Linked DNA regions of Homo sapiens: all the other regions are linked to region 1. The links are contacts of gene promoters, found by promoter capture Hi-C in blood cells and fetal thymus (Javierre and others, 2016). All regions are on one chromosome and are shown on one strand. Each heading gives the region's core, a stretch centred on a gene start or on the middle of the fragment in contact. The rest is flanking DNA. Distances are from core to core; before and after follow the strand shown.

Region 1 (3,818 bases), core at 628-3,127:
TGGGTACAGCACCCGCGGTGCGTTGTCATTGCGGTCTCCCACCAACACGCGCAGGCTCACGTTGGCGCTGAGCGTGGGCGAGCCGTGGTCGCGGGCCTGCAGCGTGAGCGCGAAGGCGCGCAGCTGCTCGTGATCAAAGGCGCGCTGCGCGAACACCACCCCGCTCTGCGCGCTCACTGACACGTATGACGACACCGCCAGGGGCTCTAGGTCACTCGCCACTATAGAGTAGGAGATGTGGCCATTGAGCCCCAAATCCGGGTCAGAGGCGCTCACTTGCGCAATGGAGGCTCCTGGCGGGTTGTTCTCGGCCACGTGGACCACGTAGGACGTCTGGTCGAAAACTGGGGCGTTGTCGTTGATGTCAGCGACATACAAGGTGATGCTTCTACTGGAAGAAAGAGGCGGCTTGCCCCTGTCAGTGGCTACGATGGTGACATTGTATTCTGGTGTCTGCTCTCGGTCCAGGGCTCCATCTGTCACCAGTTTGTAGTAGTTATTGGAAGAAGAATAAATCTTGAATGGAATGTCTGTTTCTATATTACACCTGACTTCTCCATTTCCTCCGAAATCCAGATCCCGTGTTTTGAAGAGGGCAACAACCATTCCTGGAGGTGAATTCTCCAAAATCTGATCAGAGAGAGAAGTGATGATTATTTCTGGGCTGTTGTCGTTTTCATCAAGGATTTCTATGATTACTTTACACTGGGTAGAGAGACCACCTCCGTCCTTCGCTTCCACTTCCATGGTGTACCTTTCTACATCTTCAAAATCAAATGACTGGTTATTCTTAATCATACCTGTTTTCTCATCCAATGAGAACATATGTTTTGTGCTCTGGGCAGTGCTTCGGAAGTAGTAGTTTATCTCAGCATTGACCCCCTCATCCTGGTCAGTGGCTGTCACTTGCAACACAGGGGACCCAGGGGGCAGATTTTCACTAAGACTAATTCTATATTCGTCTCTGCTGAAAACCGGGGGGTTATCATTGGTATCCTTGACAGAAATTTCTATGTGAGCGGTGGCACTTCTTGGTGGGTCCCCTCCGTCCAAGGCAGTCAATATCAAGCTATGAGATCTCTGTTCTTCCCGGTCTAGGAGTTTCTCCAGAGATAACTCTGGGTATTTGCCACCATCGGAATTAACTCTAACCATTAATGAAAAATAAGGATTAGAGTTTATCTTATAATCTTTAATTGAGTTTATGTTTATATCAGGATCCGTGGCAGGGTCAAGCGATAGTCGTGTACCAGCGGATGCAGATTCGAAAATTTCTAAATGTATTTCCTTTTTATCAAATTGAGGGGCGTGGTCATTAACATCCTCAATCACCACAATGACATGAAAAATATTTAAAGGATTTTCCACCACAGCTTCCAATTGCAACTCACATCTTCTTCTCTCTTTGCATATTTGCTCACGGTCTATTCGGTTCTTCACAAGTAAGTCCCCGCTCTCCGCGTCTACGCTGAAGTGCAGCTTCTCCGCGCTCACTCGCAGCTTGCGAGCCGACACATCCAGGACACTGAGCCCTAGATCCTTAGCGAGGTTCCCCACCACCGAGCCCTTGGCCAGCTCCTCCGGAATCGAGTAGCGGATCGGCTCACTCAGGGTGGGGTAGAACAAAGGCAGCAGCAAAGGAAATAGCACCTGCCGCGGGCCGGCCCGGCGCCTCTGCGCGCAGCTCCCTCCCATCGTTCGCTCGGGTTCTCGCTGGGTCCCCGCTTTTCCAGTTGGAGAAAGTGCACTCTACCGCGCTAAAAGAGCATTCGGCCCAGGACAGGAGGAGTCCCGGGTCTCGGAGCTGGCAATCCGCTGTGCTGGGAAAGGTCTGCGCAGCCGGGAGGCTCTGTGTGGGAGCTGGTTTTCTTCTTTCTGTTGTTGGCTGCGCAGGGAATCCCAGGCCAGAGGCTGACGGATCCCCGGCGTCAGCGCTTGCTCTGCACTGGCCGACAGCGGCGCCCAGAGGCTCCGTGCGGGACAGCAGCCCGGTTTTTCATTTTGAATTCGGTCTCCGAAATGTATATATTCTTCGAAAATGCAGGTGTACATCCCCCTCAAATTTTGCTCTCACCATAATATTATAGTAGATATTTCTATGCTTTGTGTTTTAAATAAATCTATTATGCACAATTTCAAACTTATACAACAGTAGGGAGTATATATAGTGAACCTTCACATAGCCATCACCCCACCTTCAACAATGATCACCACAAAGCCAATCTTTGTTTAATATATACTGCGCTCCCCCATTATTTTTAAGTAATACGAGATATAGAATGTCAACCAATGCTTCTTTTTAAGATGAGACATTAAGGTCAAGAATTTTATCTTTCAGCTTATGTTCTACAATCTGTTACCAATGCACAATAAGTTAAGTCCTACATAGCCTAAGAAAAACAGAAATAAAGATTTTCCATACTCCATTCAGTCATCTGTCTGGTGAGCCTCGTGTTCTGGTTTTAAGGGCAAGAGACATTTTTGTGGTATCGAATAGTAACTACCTACCATGACATACAAGCCTTCATGGATATCTGTTATGTTTTCCCCAAATTAACATACATTTCAATATTTATAAATACTAAGTATGAAGGCTACTCCTCAGAACAGAAATTGTAACAATTTTCTTGTTGCATGGTTAAAAATATGAGCCTGAAGTATGCTTTATTTTTTTTGCTACCCACTTAAGGGGGAAAACGTGTTTGAAATAATTAAAATGTCTGTATGTCATAAAGGATTCCCAGACACTTCAGCTTTTTTTTCTTAAAAATAAAGCAACTGAAACCCAAATAATTACAAACAAATAAAACAATTCTTCATTTCCACAGAAATGCCAGCAGTCATCAGTGTATCTATGGATCACATGTTTAGCATAGAATTTTGAGTCAACTTCAAAGCTTATTTTCAAATGTCTTGTGAAATGTTATTTACTATTTGAAACAACACTATGTTTAAAATAACATTAAATAATACATTATTCTCTTCCTTATAGCTAAAAACAGTAAAATAGTTTTAGAATCTTCCCAGCAGTTCCTGAGAATATTTTCTTAAATTATATCTGATATGCAAGTTCATTTCTAGACTCAAAAGTTGGAGAATTGAGCCAGAAATAATATATAAGTGAGAGAAATATTTTTAATTCCTTGTTTTGTCATTTCACAGTGTCCAGTCTTAGAAACTTCTCTTGAGCAAGCATATACTATAGAAAAGAAGAATGTCCTACTATTCTCCATAATTTAACATTAAAGCATTAGGAAATTAAGACCTTTGAAGATATGAGAATAAAAGATGTGACAACTTTCACCATTAAAGGGAAAAAATTGGTTTACTAGGGTTTGGAAGTGGATAACTGAAGTTTGAATCTTCGTCAGAAAATATCTGTAAACACAAACAGACTTTACACACTTGTGATCTGAAAAATATAACCTCAAAGAGGTGTTTTCCTGTCATAGAAATGGAAGAATAGAAGCAATAAATCTGGGCTTTCAGCTGTTTCTCTAAGAAGAATACATTTACCTTTTTATCAGTTTACCCTTACAAACATAGTATGACCTGAATAAATGATCGTAGGAGTAAGAATTTGCTGGGTGAGGTGGTTCACACCTCACCCAGTGCTTTGGGAAACTGAAGCAGGAAGATCGTTTGAGACCAGTCTGGGCAACATAGCTTGCTAGCCCTCCCACCTCAGTCCTAGCTACTGTGAAGGCTGAGGTGGGAGGATTGCATAAGCCCAGGAGATTGAGACTGCAGTAAGCTTTACCCACACCACTGCATTCCACCCTGGACAACAGAATGACACCCCCATCTCTTAAAAAAAA
Region 2 (3,818 bases), core at 598-3,097, 180 kb before region 1:
AGTTTAAATGTCTCTTGGGCCAGGCAGGTAGTATAAATAAGGTAAGCAGGCTAGATAGAAGATGGCAAAAGAAGTGGGGAATGTGGCAAATTGAAGAGAGGCTTTTGGCATTTTTGTTAGAAAAGCCAGCCACAACTCAGTTCTAGTAGGTGGTTGCATTCCAGTTGGGAATACTTGCCTAGTAGTGCCAGATATTTCTATTTTTCAAAAGAAGTCAGCAATCCGTAATTTTAAAAAAATAATAAATCTTGAATAACATAAAATATCCTAGTCACTATTTGAATTTCCCCAATTAGGTCATTTTTTTAAAAACCAGTTTGTTCAAATCACAATTCCAAATATAGTCCACTGTACTGGTATTCTCAATTTTCATTTAAACTATAGGTTTCCCTTCCTCTTTTTTTTGAGATGGAGTATTGCTCTGTCGCAAGCAGAGCAAGACTTGCAACCTCCGTCTTCTGGGTTCGAGCAGTTCTCCTGCCTCAGCCTCCTGAGTAGCTGGGATTACAGGTGGACACCACCATGCCCGGCTAATTTTTGTAGCTTGAGTAGAGATAGGGTTTCATCATGTTGGCCAGGCTAGTCTCGAACCCCTGACCTTGTGATCCACCCACCTCAGCCTCCCAAAGTGCTGGGATTACGGGCATGAGCCACTGCACCTCTTTTTCTTTTATCCTTACTATTGATACTAAAAAAAAATTGTTGAAAAAACCGTTTGTTTGACCTGTAGAGTTTCCCACAACATGAAATTCGATGGATGAATCCTTTGGTGCTGTTTTACTAGAGATCTGTATCTTTATGTAAGGTCCCCCAGATTTAAAATGTTGAGCTAGCCAAGTGAAACATTTTATCTTTGGGTTTGACTTAGCTTGAGGGCCACCATTTTGTAACTTCTGTGTTCAGTTTATCTGCAAGAGGAAAAATGCATCTGGCTGGCAGTGGTGGCTCACACCTGTAATCCCAGCACTTTGGGAGGCCGAGGTGGGTGGATCACGAGGTCAGCAGTTCAAGACCAGCCTGGCCAAGATGGTGAAACCCCGTCTCTACTAAAAATACAAAAATTAGCTGAGTGTGGTGGCGGGCGCCTGTAATCCCAGCTACTGCCAGGAGGCTGAGGCAGGAGAATCACTTGAATCTGGGAGGTGGAGGTTGCAGTGAGCCAAGATTGTGCCATTGCACTCCAGCCTGGGTGACAGAGTGAGACTCCGTCTCAAAAAAAAAAAACCCACCAGGAATTAAGTCACAGAAACTTCAGATTAATTTTGCTGCTTGCAGAAGAAACAGAATACATCCCCCCATCCATATTTTTCTCAATTCAAATAACATTCTGGAATTATTAGGGCTAAATTTGTGCACACCAAGGTACTAGGCTTGGACACATGGTTGTTATATATGTAGAAAGATCAAGCAGAGCCTTTCCCCAAACATACATCAGATTATGTCTGTCAGGGGGCCTCTGCTTTATCATAGAGTTTCCAGTTCTTTCTTCGTGGGAAAGGAGTTTGTACAGGGACTGAGTTAACCAGGGGTAATGGGTTTGTAGGCCCTAGAGTTGGTGCAGAGTTTGTTGCTGTTGATTTTGCTTGTGTTTAGATTATGCCATTCATCCAGTGCTTCAGTCTGAAGAGATTTTTAAGGTCCATCCTTGATGCAGAAAGCATTGTGTGTGGTTTTCTTTCAATAATACAAAATAAATCTTTCATTTATATTGAGTCCATTTTTCTTAGAGAAAAAAAGTGTGTATATGTCTATAGAGATTTATACTAAAATGTTAACTATACTTATCTTTGAGGAATTTTCATCAGCTGTAATAGCTTAAATTTCTAGGGATCAAAAAGATTTATTTACTTAAGCATTTTACATGCTCAACTCTTCACTAAGCATACTAATATTAAACACTAAAAATTTGTAAAGAATTTGAGGCAATTTTGTTTTTTCTCTTTTTTCTCCCTCTCCTAGCTGGATATGAACCTGAATGAGGAGAAACAGCAACCTTTGAGGGAGAAGGACATCATCATCAAGAGGGAGATGGTGTCCCAATACTTGTACACCTCCAAGGCTGTGAGTCCTGGGACAGGTACCCATGACATGGGAGACTGTGCCCTTGTCTTGGACCTGTTTTTTTTTTGCCAATTTTATGTAACATTTTATGTCTGCATCAATTCTGTTTCATTCCATTATATAAGCCTGTTCACTTTTTACTGTCTTATTTAGTTACCGTTCTTACATACATTTTGCCTGGTTAAATTTTCATGAAGTATGTAAATATAGGGAATGGGATAGGCAGTTCTAAGTCTCATTTATGTTGGTGGTATGTGAGATGGGTATCTGCCCTGATAAACGTGGCCTGACATGGTGGCTTACTCCTGTAATCTGAGCACTTTGGGAGGCTGAGGCAGAAGGATCACTTGAGCCCAGGAGTTTGAAATCAGCCTGGGCAACGTAGTAAGACCTTGTCTCTGCTAAAAATAAAAAATAAAAATAAAGTATAAACTCTATTGACTAATACTAGTCCTTAATTTATGACTGGGTCCACCATTACTAATCTCTGTCTATGCCTTCTGTCTAGGGCATGAGCCAGAAGGAGAGCTCTAAGTCTGCCATGATGTATATTCAGGAGTTGAGGTCAGGCTTGCGGGATATGCCTCTGCTCAGCTGCCTGGAGTCCCTTCGTGTGTCTCTCAACAACAACCCTGTCAGGTGAGGATTCTGAGGAGGTAACAGGAGTAGGAGCCAAATGTTGGACTTCACTGGTGGTGATTGAAGATCAAAGGAGCCAGGGAAGCATGAGAATAGTCTGAATTGGGAGTAGTAAGTTGTCAGGATAAACTTTGTTTGGCAAATAAGTATTTATTGGTTTGATATTGCATTGCCTCTCTCTGTTCCTTACAGTTGGGTGCAAACATTTGGTGCTGAAGGCTTGGCCTCCTTATTGGACATTCTTAAACGACTTCATGATGAGAAAGAAGAGACTGCTGGGTGAGGACTTCCAAGTCTTTGCAACTTCAAGTTGGAGAGTCACAGGGGACTTGGCTATTTGCTCTGAAGGAGAAAGTAGCAGTTAAATGTAAAGTTGTGGGCTAGGGGAATGTACTGTTAGCCAAGAAGGGGTTTATCATAGTGGTGGCTAGAGGATGAATGATGATTATAGATACAGGAAAGGGAGGAGGAACTTAAATTTCATGTTGGATAAGTTCAATACATACCACAGAATATTAGTCTCCCAGCACTGGTTCTTTTTCAATCTGGAAATAAAATCTGATTTAGTGCTGCTGTGTAATCTGGTCTGGGTAATATCCATTTGGAAGTCTTATAATATACTTGGGACTAGTATTGTGACAGTCTTCAAGGTTGGAATAATTTTAGGTATACCTTGGACTCTCTTAGGCTACCTTGAAGCCAACCTGAAGCAGAGTACTTCCTGGAATCTTTCTGAAACAAAATAATAACATGGCCAAGACCTACATATATCTTCTCAGACTTGAAACCTCTAGTAGCAAGGCAAGCAGCAATAGATGGGATGTTATCCTGATAGAATTTAGCATTTAGGAGCCTAGGGAGAGTTAAAAAGAAGATTTTAATATAATACTAAATTCTTGGATTACAAGAGGATCAGCCAGATTTGTTGATGGTGAAGATCCCTCTTCAGTTATCTATTTTCTTCAGTGGTTCTGGGCAAGGTGCTATTTCCTAAAATTTACTCATCTGCTAGATGGGGCTGTTGTTCCTAAGAACCTTGTTTGCAAGATTAAAAATGGGAAAGGGGTAGAGAATAAAGGGACCTCACTGATTATGTCTTCTATATACAGGAGTTACGA
Region 3 (3,818 bases), core at 870-3,369, 170 kb after region 1:
CTCTGACTCAATAATAGTAATAATAATGCTCATATATGTTATGGAGTGAAGGTTATAAAAAGAGCAGAAAAGTCTTTAAGTTTGGGGAAAAATGTAGTCTTTCCCACTTCAAGCTATTGTGAAATAAAACGATGCAATTTTTGCAGACGCTTCTCCATTTAAAAATTCAAGACAGGTAAGCATAAGACAGAATCAATAGAATATGTACTAATAATCACTATATCATCGTTCCTGTCTTCTAAGCATCAAAAGTTTAGAAAAGCTTTCTTTAATGAAACGGAATGGAGCTGGAGTCTTCAAGTCAACAGCCTGTGATTTTGAAAAGTTGATAAATTGAACAAATATTACTTTTCATTAATGAGTAAACCTGAAAGTTGTATTCATCAAAATGGACATGATAAAAGGAGACCAAGTATGAACAAATAATCAAAGAAAATGTCTAATCTTAAGTAGGAAAATGAAATCAGCAAAAATCTTAGAAAATCCATATAGCACAAAAAACATAACAGAGACTTAATATATTGATAAAGGACTAACCTTTATCCTAAATGCTCTGAAAAATCTACAGATTCTTAATTGAATCCAAAACCATTTACAAAGTTGGACTTTTCCTCCCATCATTCACAGCGCCCGGATGCTTAGGGATAACAGACTTCAGGAATTTGAATTCATTTGTCCCGGAGCCTCGCGTCAGAAACACTTCATACTTGTACCTCTGGGATAGGGTCCTGGTGTCGCTCACGTCCACCAGATGCCTGGAAAGGGGTCCTCGGGCACCGAGCAGCGACCCAATGAGGCCTCCCTGCTCCTCCTGCACAGCCGCACCGCCACGAACAGGAGCACCGAGAAGAGGAAGAACGACGACACCAAGGCCAACGCCACCACCAGGTAGACGGTGAGCAAGTCGGCCTGGGCCTGGGCCGGGGCCGCTTCAGGGAACGGCAAGTAGGGCAGGGAGAAGCCATCCACCAGGAGCACGTGCAGCGTGGCGGTGGCCGAGCGCGGAGGCTCGCCATTGTCCTTGACCAGGACCATCAGCCTGTGCTTGGCTGTGTCACGCTCGCTCAGCAGCCTGTCAGTGCATTGTGCGCCCACACGCCGAACAGCCCTGGCTCCGTGGCCTTGAGCAACTGCTACGACAGCCAGGCGTTCTGGCCCGAGTCACCGTCCACCGCCACCACCTTGGTCACCAGGTAGCCCGGCTCGGCGGCCCGCCCGGGGCATCAGCTCGGTGCAGGGCGCGGAGCCGTTCTGCAGCGGGAACAGCACGAAGAGTGAGCTGTCGTTGGCGTCCAGCACCAGCACGCGCACCAGCGCCTCGCTGCTCAGCGCCGTGGAGCCGCGGTCTGAAGCGCCCACGCGGAACTCGAACTCCTGCAGGGCCTCGTAGTCCAGCGACCTGAGGGCGAACAGGTGGCCGTTGTCTGTGTTGATGGAGACCAGGGAGGCGAGGGGCAGGTGCGGGTTCCGGGGCGGCAGCAGCGAGTAGGTGACCTGGATGTTGGTGCCCGAGTCTCTGCGGTGCTGACGCTGCCAATATGCAGGGCGGGGCTGTTGTTCTCGCGGACGAACAGGGTGTAGGAGGTTTAGGTGAAGGTGGGGGCTTTGTCATTGACGTAGGAGACCAGCACCGTTATGTTGTACTCGGTTTTCAGCCTAGGAGTCCCCAAGTCCGTGGCTGTGTTGGTGATGTTGTACTCGGCTCTAATCTCTTTGTCCAGTGGTCCTTCTGTTAACAGCCAGTATAAATTCTCAACGGAAGGTTTCGGCATGAACGGAACATCATTTTGAATTGATCAAACTATTCTTCCATTTTTCCCAGAATCGCGGTCTTGAATGCTGAAAAGAGCTGCAACGGTCTCAGGAGAATTTTCGCGGATGGGGCTTGTGAATGAAGCCATGGTCAGTTCCGGAGCGTTATCGTTGATATCTACCACCTGTATTATGACAGTGCATTTTCCAGAAAGACCTGCCCCATCAGAGGCTTTAATATCCACCTGATATGACACAATTTTTTCAAAATCTAGTTTTCTGATTATTTTAATTTCTCCCCTTCGTTCATTAAGTGCAAATGTCTTAGAAATCTCTTCATCACCATAAAAAATGAGTAGAATATCTCACCATTAATTCCCATGTCTGAATCTCTAGCGGAAACAGTGGCAACAAGGGAATCCAGGGGGCTGTTTTCTGATATCTGCACCTGATAGAGTGGCTACACAAACTCAGGTGCATTGTCATTGATGTCCAAGATTTCAATGAGGACCAGAGCAGTCCCAGTTCTGGGAGGAGTCCCGCCATCTACTGCCATGAGAGTTAACCTGATCTCAGCCTGCTCCTCCCGATCCAGGGCTTTGTCCAGAACCAGCTCTGGGTATTTTCTGCCTTCACTGCCATTTTGGGTGAGAGCGTGGACATGGGAGTAGGGGTAGATGGTGTAGTTTTGGATGTTATTGATGGCCACATCCAAATCTTGTGTATTTTTCAGAGGAAACACAGTTCCTGGAGGAGTATTTTCCATGATTTCAAAATAATTTCTGCTTCTGGGAATACAGGGGAATTGTGTTTATGTCACTGACCAAAAGTTTAAACCTCCAAAGGTTCTTCCAGTAACACTTGGAATTGCAGCACACAAGGCTCAGTGATTCTACACAATTCTTCCCGGTCCAATGTCTCATTTACTTGCAGGTCTCCGGTCTGAAGTTTCAGCTGAAAATATTTTTTGTTATTGTTAAAAATGACCCGAGGCCTCCACTGGTATATTACTCTTACTTCTAGCCCTGGGTCCTTTGTTAGATTGGCCACAAAAGAACCACTTTCTGTTTCTTCTGCTACAGTATATTCCACTCCGCACAGTATATTCCACTCCGCACAAGTCTGAGACAGCATAACAAAGAGAAGCAGCACTTGCCTTATTCTAGGAAAGTGCTCCTTTTCAGCCTCCATTTCTCCAACACCAACAGCATTCAGGGTCCGGATGCCTATGTTGCGTTGGTAGGCAATCTGCTCTGGGAATCAATCCTTGCAGCAACGCAATTTTCGGTTAAGAAAGCCTCTTCTCTTTGATGGATCGAATGAGTGCTAGCACAGTAGTTGAAGAGATTCATTCTAACATTTCAGGAGTGTAAACTTAAGTGATATACTAGCTAAATCTGGTTTATTATGCAAACTCAATAGGTAGCCTAAGAGTTGTGGATAACTTATTTGTGAATATTGCCTAAGGACTGTGAGCTTGTTATGTTGACTTGTTACAGTATCTAAAATAATTTATAAAGAGCATCACCATCTATTGTTAATACTGAGATACACACATGTTGAAGCTGAGAGTCACTGAGACCTTGAAGAGGGAGCCAGCCAAGATCATGGATATAAAGGCTGAAGTTAAAGTAAAAAGTAAAATGCAGAAGAAAATATGTTAAGTTCACCTGAAATAGCAGGTTAAGCATATTCCCAACTGGAGAAGATCTCAACTCATTTTTAGTAAGCAATTATGTATCTCTTGTGGATTCATTGGAATACTGAAACCCTAGCATGGAACTGAAATTTTTACTTCTGAGGAAAGAGAAAACATTTTGGGGGAGGAGACTTGGGGGTCTTCCCAACTGTGCCAACTTTAGCCAATGTTTTACTCACAATGTTTAAATAATAGACACTATTATGTGTTGTGGCATTCTAATTATCTAGCTAACTGAGAAAACTAAGGATGAGCCAAGTGTAAGAACTGTGGTTCATATTGGTTTCTCTTAAGGCATAAATAACTCAAATCAACATTCTACTTTAGAATGTTTTCTTCTATACAAACAAGTTCGATTAATTAAACT

What was found. The method cuts DNA at HindIII sites, captures the fragments that hold promoters and counts their contacts. A CHiCAGO score of 5 or more calls a contact.
Region 2: a contact is called between a fragment that was not itself captured here and the fragment with the promoter of PCDHGB6 in region 1, in 1 of 17 cell types (M2 macrophages). The highest score is 5.4, in M2 macrophages.
Region 3: a fragment that was not itself captured here is called in contact with the fragment with the promoter of PCDHGB6 in region 1 in 4 of 17 cell types (endothelial precursors, erythroblasts, total B cells and 1 more); the score reaches 8.6 in endothelial precursors.

Annotation. Positions count from the first base shown.
Region 1 is chr5:141,406,080-141,409,897 of GRCh38, reverse strand. It overlaps PCDHGB6 (protocadherin gamma subfamily B, 6), which reads right to left and starts at 1,877. Exons shown (of 4, transcript NM_018926.3): 1 at 1-1,877. The coding sequence starts at 1,695. All of the region lies in intron 1 of PCDHGA1 (protocadherin gamma subfamily A, 1), which reads right to left. The region is part of intron 1 of PCDHGA2 (protocadherin gamma subfamily A, 2); the gene reads right to left. The region is part of intron 1 of PCDHGA3 (protocadherin gamma subfamily A, 3); the gene reads right to left. It also overlaps PCDHGB1, PCDHGA4, PCDHGB2, PCDHGA5, PCDHGB3 and PCDHGA6, and 6 more genes. RefSeq lists an enhancer at 1,419-1,468. The HindIII fragment of the contact is 5,535 bases long and covers 1-2,899 here.
Region 2 is chr5:141,582,367-141,586,184 of GRCh38, reverse strand. DIAPH1 (diaphanous related formin 1) reads left to right here. Exons shown (of 28, transcript NM_005219.5): 4 at 1,960-2,061; 5 at 2,570-2,700; 6 at 2,893-2,979; 7 at 3,810-3,818. Among named protein-coding and RNA genes, the nearest start is that of DIAPH1-AS1, 26 kb to the right of the region's middle. The HindIII fragment of the contact is 4,023 bases long and covers 1-3,818 here.
Region 3 is chr5:141,239,048-141,242,865 of GRCh38, reverse strand. It overlaps PCDHB@ and the pseudogene PCDHB19P. Among named protein-coding and RNA genes, the nearest start is that of PCDHB15, 4.4 kb to the left of the region's middle. The HindIII fragment of the contact is 3,709 bases long and covers 265-3,818 here.